2 separate regions of the Homo sapiens genome follow, and region 1 is linked to region 2. Evidence: promoter capture Hi-C in 16 types of primary human blood cells and fetal thymus (Javierre and others, 2016). All regions are on one chromosome and are shown on one strand. Each heading gives the region's core, a stretch centred on a gene start or on the middle of the fragment in contact. The rest is flanking DNA. Distances are from core to core; before and after follow the strand shown.

Region 1 (3,165 bases), core at 77-2,576, 960 kb after region 2:
TTGATGGGGAGAGAAGGGTATGATAACCCTTGGTTTTGCATGTCATGTTAAATGTACTATTTTTCCATTGTTTATTCAGAAAGTCTGGGCTTCAGCTATTTCTGTTCCAATTTGATGGTTAAAAATTCTGATCATTTTGTCCAGGCGCGGTGGCTCACGCCTGTAATCCCAGCACTTTGGGAGGCCGAGGCAGGCAGATCACCTGAGGTCGGGAGTTCAAGACCAGTCTGACCAACATGGAGAAACCCCATCTCTACTAAAAAGACAAAATTAGCCGAGCATGGTGGTGCATGCCTGTAATCCCAGCTACTTGGGAGGCTGAAGCAGAAGATTCGCTTGAACCCGGAAAGCAGAGGTTGCGGTGAGCTGAGATCGCGCCTTTGCGCTCCAGCCTGGGCAACAGGAACAAAACTGTCTCCAAAAAAAAATTATGTTATTCCAAAACAGTTTAGGGTTCCTGTTAGGAAATTTTTGTTTTCTGGTTTTTGGCTGAAAAATACTAGTACAGCAGAAGAGAAGGAAAAAGGTGAATAGTTTGATTTGGGACTGGATTTACAGTGGAGTTGCATCATACTTGCATTTAATTAACCTTACACATGTAGCAGAAAATTGGATGGGTCATATTTTCAACAGACCAGTGAATTCTCAGCTGGATGAGATTTTTTGCTCCCCAAGGGACATTTGTAACAAAGAATCAGTCAACCCAAAAGGTAATAGAGCCCACGTTGAGAAAACACTGAGATTGATTTGTTAGTGACTGATCACTAACAAAAACATGTTTCCCAGTGAGCACGAAGTGGAAGACAAGTCTGTCTGCTATGGGCATTATTTCACATTTCTCATAGTGTGATGACCTAACTTTCTGTGTGATTCTAATATGTGATTTTGGTATGAGAAAGCCCAGTAAGGCAAGTCATCTACTAGGTGAATAGTTTAATGGATTTTTAAGGGTAATTCTTATGATATGTTTATATTGCTAATTTATCTACTGCTTTAATGTTAAGTCTAACCCCTGGATAAAATGTGACTTTGCTCTTACGCTGAGGTTGGAAAAAAAGCTTAAGTTGAAACCATGCTTGTGATTATTATACTATTTCCCCTTTTGTTTCCTTTCATCAGCCCATCTGAGTTTTTATTAGTGACTTAAGAGCATTAAAGATGGAAAGTGACCACTGGAGACAGAAAACCTAAGCAGGTTTATAATTTAGTTGGGAAGAAAAGATAGAAAAGGAAAAGGAGGGCAAGGTAGCTTATACTGATTACTTGTAGGCAGTAAGTACGGTAGGACTGGGAGACTTAGGGAGACCGTACAGCAGAGTTGTGAATCCAGCTAGATACTATACTTAGACTAAGACATCAATATTTTTGTGGGAAAAGTATCCTAATGACTTTTTTTTTTCTTTTAAGAGATAGGGCCTCACTCTCCGATGCAATGGTGTGATCATGGCACACTGCAGTCTCAGCCTCCTGGGCTCAAGGAATCCTCCTGCCTTAGACTTCCAAAGTGCTGGGACTACAGGCATGCACCCGGCAAATTTTATTTTTTTGTAGAGACAGGGTCTTGCTATGTTGCCCAGGTTGGTCTCAAGCTTCTGGCCTCAAGTGATTTTCCCCCTCTCAGCCTCCCAGAGGATGAGGATTATAGGCATGGGATGCCATGCCTGGCCTCTCTAATTACATTTTAATAACTAGCAATCATTATTGCATTACAAATGGGGATTTTTTTTTATCATACTATGAATTTCTCAAATAGAAACTTATATTGAAATCATGTTTTCCCCTGCAGTCTCACACCATTTTGCTGGTACAGCCTACCAAGAGGCCAGAAGGCAGAACTTATGCTGACTACGAATCTGTGAATGAATGCATGGAAGGTGAGTTTAACACTAATCAAGGGGTAGAAAAATGTCTCATTTAGGAACTGGGTTTTTCCCCTCCAAATTTTTTTTTTTTAATAGTCCATCCACCCCAGGCCCTGCCTTTATCACTTCCAACCCTCCAAATTTATTGAATTGCTAATTTTAGGAGGGAAAGCAGATATTTAGGATGGACCATAATTATTGAACATTTTATTTATTTGTTTGTTTATTTATGTATTATTTGAGACAGAGTCTCGCTCTATCACCCAGACTGGAGTGCAGTAATGCGATCTCGGCTTACGCAACCTCCGCCCCCCAGGTTCAAGTGATTCTCTTGTGCCTCAGCCTCCCAAGTAGCTGGGACTACAGGCATGGGCCACCACACCCAGATAATTTTTTGTGTATTTAGTAGAGATGGGGTTTCACCATGTTGGCCAGGCTGGTCTCGAGCTCCTGACCTCAAGTAATCCGCCTTGGCCGGTTGAACATTTTAAACATTAATTATGTATATAGTATCCTCCTTGCTACAAGTATTAGGTGTTTTTTTTTTTTAAACTAATGTATATAATGAGTGACTTTCCAGAGCTGCTTGTTGTTTTATAAATATTCTCTTCTTATTTGTCACATGTTATTTTGTTACAGTATGGAAATATTTTACAGGTATCCCTTATATATTCTGGTTAAGCTCAAACACTATAGGCTTGTGTGTCTGTCTGTTTTTAATAGGTTGTTTTAATAGATTTAAGGGATACAAGTGTAGTCTTCTTATATAGATATATGGCATAGTAGTAAAGTCTGGGCCTTTTTTTTTTTTTCCTTAAGACACGGGGTCTTGCTCTGTCACCCAGGCTGGGGTACAGTGGTGATAATGGCTTATTGCAGTCTCAGTTTCCTGGGCTCAAGCAGTCCTCCTGCCTCAGCCTCCCAAATAGCTGGGACTAGAGGCACCTGCCGCCACACCTGGCTAATTTTTTGGTTTTTTTATAGAGATGGGGTCACTGTGTTGCACATGTTGGTCTCAGACTTCTAGCCTCAGGCAGTTCTCCTGCCTTAGCCTCCCAAAGTTCTGGGATTACAAGCATGAGCCACCGCGCCAACCAAGTCTGGGCTTTTATTGTAGCCATCACCTGGTGTACATTGTACGCAGTAGTGATTTTTCATCCCTCACCATTCTCCCACCTTTTGTAGTCTCCAGTGTCAGTTATTCCACTCTGTCTGTCCATGTGCACACATCATTTAGCCTCCACTAATAAATGAGAACATTAAATGTTTGACTTTCTGAGTTACTTCACTTGAGATAATGACC
Region 2 (3,561 bases), core at 766-3,265:
GACATAGAGTGCCTTAAATTGGATAGATGCCTTATCTGAAAAGTGTAAGATTATCGACTCTAGCATTATTTTGAATATATGTATACGATTTAACCCATTATTAGCTACTACTTAGGTGCCGGGTTTTGATGGAGTAGTATCCAGTAGGCTGATGTTTTATGTAGTGAAGATGTAGGAAAACGCTAGAGTTTTAGAGCAGCGCCTTTGGCTTCTAGGATCTTAGGGAAAGTAGGAGATGTGATACGCTTAACTAACCTGGATGCCACGTGAGATTTATTTATTTATTTTTGAAACAGGGTCTAGCTGTGTCACCCAGGCTGCAGTGCAGTGGCATGATCACGGCTCACTGTAGCCTGGACCTCCTGGGCTCAAGTGATCTTCCCACCTCAGCTTCCCAAGTAGCTGAGACCCCACCATGCCTGGCTAATTTATTATTATTATTATTATTTGTAAAGATGGGGTCTTGCTTTGTTGCTCAGGCTGGTCTCGAACTCCTGGGCTCAAATGATCCTCCTGCCTCAGCCTCCCAAACTGCAGGTATTACAGGCATGAGCCACCATGCCTGGTCTGCATGAATTTTGAAATATCAAAAGGAAGTAAATAAGATGGGAGAGATGCACCGTTCCTGGGTTTCTGGAGGTATTGAAATACAGGTTGATGTGTAGAGTGGTGGAGCAAACTCCTATTCCATCTCCTTGCTTCAAAAACCCATTTAACATATTTTCCTTGGATAGAGAATGTGTCAAATATTAAACTGTTAAGAACAGATACTACACTTGATCTTAGCCAAAAGGATAAGTTTCACTGGAGTAGCCTGCAGTAGATCTGGAGCTTCTCTTCTGGAGACCACTTAAGAGGCTACTTTAATAGGTGAAAAGATGATAAGGAATTAAAAAAAGGAACATTTCAGTGGTAACAGAGAGGCAGGGACAGATGGAAATATTTCAGGAATAGCATGGAAGATAATATTCCGCATCACCTGCACTCTGATTCACTCTGGTAAATGGGACACGTGGGGGATCGGCTTCCTAAGCTATCCCAGTACTTCACACATGTTTGTTTCTGTGCCCATGAAATCGCCAGTGTCTTTAAGGTAAGGATCATATATTTTTATCTGTGTTCCTAGAACCCTTTCAAAGACACGCTGAAAGGTGGCCTGTATGGTTGCTGAATCATTGGTAAATAGACATTCATAAATGACTAAAGATTACAGGTTATCTCACAGTAAAATCATTAGCATTAAAAGTTCAGTAATGACTGATGAGACACTACACTGATTACATTTCAACCTAATCTTTCAAAAGCGATTTATTTTTAAAAGTCTCCATTAAACTGGCAAATTCCTCATCCCACAAATAGCCATAAAGACTGGAGTACCAGCTTCAAAATACTTTTTTTTCTTTTTTCTTTTTGAGACGAAGTCTCGCTCTTGTTCCCCAGGCTGGAGTGCGATGGCGCGATCTCTGCTCATTGCAACCTCCGCCTCCCGGGTTCAAGCGATTCTCCTGCCTCGGCCCCCCAGTAGCTGGGATTACAGGCGCCTGCCACCACGCCCGGCTAATTTTTGTATTTTTTTTTTTTAATAGAGACGGGGTTTTACCATGTTGACCAGGCTGATCTAGAACTCCTGACCTCAGGTGATCTACCGGCCTCGGCCTCCCAAAGTGCTGGGATTACAGGCCACCCACCCAGGCCACCGCGCCCGGCCTCAAAATACTTTTTTCCTTAGCTGATTTTATCGAGTGGCTATGTGCCTAAGGGAGTGTTCTAAGCAGACGTTAGTTAGGACCCAGAACGTGGGAAGTACTGGTTTCCAGATCAATTTGGTGGTGATCGTAAACCGATTCAAATCTCTAAATCCCAATTGCACGCCGACGTTACGGAACCAAAAACGCTGACGCCCACATTTCTGGGCGGACGCACAAGTATGTTACGATGGCTCGATTGCTTTTGCCTAGCGGAAACCATTCACTAAGGACCGAGCACCAAATAACCAAGGAAAAGGAAGTGAGTTAAGGACGTACTCGTCTTGGTGAGAGCGTGAGCTGCTGAGATTTGGGAGTCTGCGCTAGGCCCGCTTGGAGTTCTGAGCCGATGGAAGAGTTCACTCATGTTTGCACCCGCGGTGATGCGTGCTTTTCGCAAGAACAAGACTCTCGGCTATGGAGTCCCCATGTTGGTGAGTGGAGTGAGGAGGATCTTCCGCAAGGGGTGGGACCCTCCTCCTTGGCAGGATCAAGACCTGGGAGGGAATCTGTAAAATGTGAAGTTAAGGGCTGGCACTCGGGCTAGGAAGGAGCTAGCGACGGGGTGAGAGCTTTCCTAAAAGCTCTTCCACCAGTCTTTTCCACACCCCCACTTCCCCGCCGCTGTCCCCCACTCCCGGTTGGATTTCAGGTGTACTAGGATCTGTCTGCTTGTGAGCGTGGCGTCTTTCCCATCGTCGAACGCGGTCATTGTTACTACCCTTGATTCACAGTTAAGTAAATTGAAGCTCAGAGAATTCAGTCAGAACCACACTTTAAGCCAAGTTTGGATGATTACTAAGCTTGCTTCCTCGCCCCCAACTTAGCTATGTTTTGACGATACTGTGGATCATTGGGACTAGATGTATTCCATTTAACTGCACGAATTCCTGGTATCTTTCTGTTTCATCTTTCTAGTTTGTGAATTAGCTTAATACTTAGAGTTGTGATGAACTAATAACACCTTGTGAATAAAGTGTTGAGTACGGTGCCTGCCACATTGTAGCCAGAATGATTGCTGTGTTATAATTTCTAAAGCACGTTGAAAACAGCTTCCGTGTTTATATGGTTTCATCCATATCCACACTGAGTTCCCTAAGGATGTCATGAAATGCAGGCTGAGGCTGGCTTAAGACAACCAGAGTTGAAATCCAGATGACTCTTATTTGCTTTTTGATTACGGGCCAGTTATTTTGCTTCAGCAAGCCTTGATGTGTTAGTAAATGAAATAATTAAAGCATATGAACAAAAGCTGCTTTTAAATACAGACTATATTTTTATTTTGTATGAATGTTGGCGCAGATGAAATTACCAGCTTTTCCATTTAAGCAGACTAAAGGAAAGAAGTGATCTTAGAAAGGTAATGGATATTTTACACAGTTTTGAAAAATCCACATTCATCAAATGTGGATTTTAGGAATCTCCAAAAGATTCACCCATTTGAAGTATCTGGGCCAAGCACGATGGCTCACACCTGTAATCCCAGTGTTAGGGGAAGCCAAGACAGGAGGATCGCTTTAGGTCAGGAGTTCCAAACCAGCAAGACCTCTGTCTCTCCAAAAAAAAAAAAAAAAAAAAAAATTGTTGTTTTTAGCAAATTCGATATTAGTATACTAATATATTCGTATATTAGTATATTCTTAGTTATGGAGCCATCACCACAATTTTAGAACATTTTCATTGCCCCCAAAAAAGCATCATAACTAATAGTAGTCACTTCCCATTTCTTCCTGCCTCTTAATGCTGGCCTGGTAAACCACTAATCTACTTCTACCCGTAAATTTGCTTATTCTGCACATTTCATATTAACACACTA

The links. The method cuts DNA at HindIII sites, captures the fragments that hold promoters and counts their contacts. A CHiCAGO score of 5 or more calls a contact.
Region 1: a contact is called between a fragment that was not itself captured here and the fragment with the promoter of COX16 in region 2, in 2 of 17 cell types (naive CD4 T cells and non-activated CD4 T cells). The highest score is 6.9, in naive CD4 T cells.

What each region holds. Positions count from the first base shown.
Region 1 is chr14:69,393,534-69,396,698 of GRCh38, reverse strand. It overlaps ERH (ERH mRNA splicing and mitosis factor), which reads left to right. Exons shown (of 4, transcript NM_004450.3): 2 at 1,787-1,874. Among named protein-coding and RNA genes, the nearest start is that of ERH, 3.2 kb to the left of the region's middle. The HindIII fragment of the contact is 531 bases long and covers 1,061-1,591 here.
Region 2 is chr14:70,358,137-70,361,697 of GRCh38, reverse strand. It overlaps COX16 (cytochrome c oxidase assembly factor COX16), which reads left to right and starts at 2,015. Exons shown (of 4, transcript NM_016468.7): 1 at 2,015-2,179. The coding sequence starts at 2,111. The region is part of intron 3 of SYNJ2BP-COX16 (SYNJ2BP-COX16 readthrough); the gene reads left to right. It also overlaps the pseudogene RNU2-51P. RefSeq lists enhancers at 1,436-1,525, 1,986-2,295. The HindIII fragment of the contact is 4,146 bases long and covers 1-2,550 here.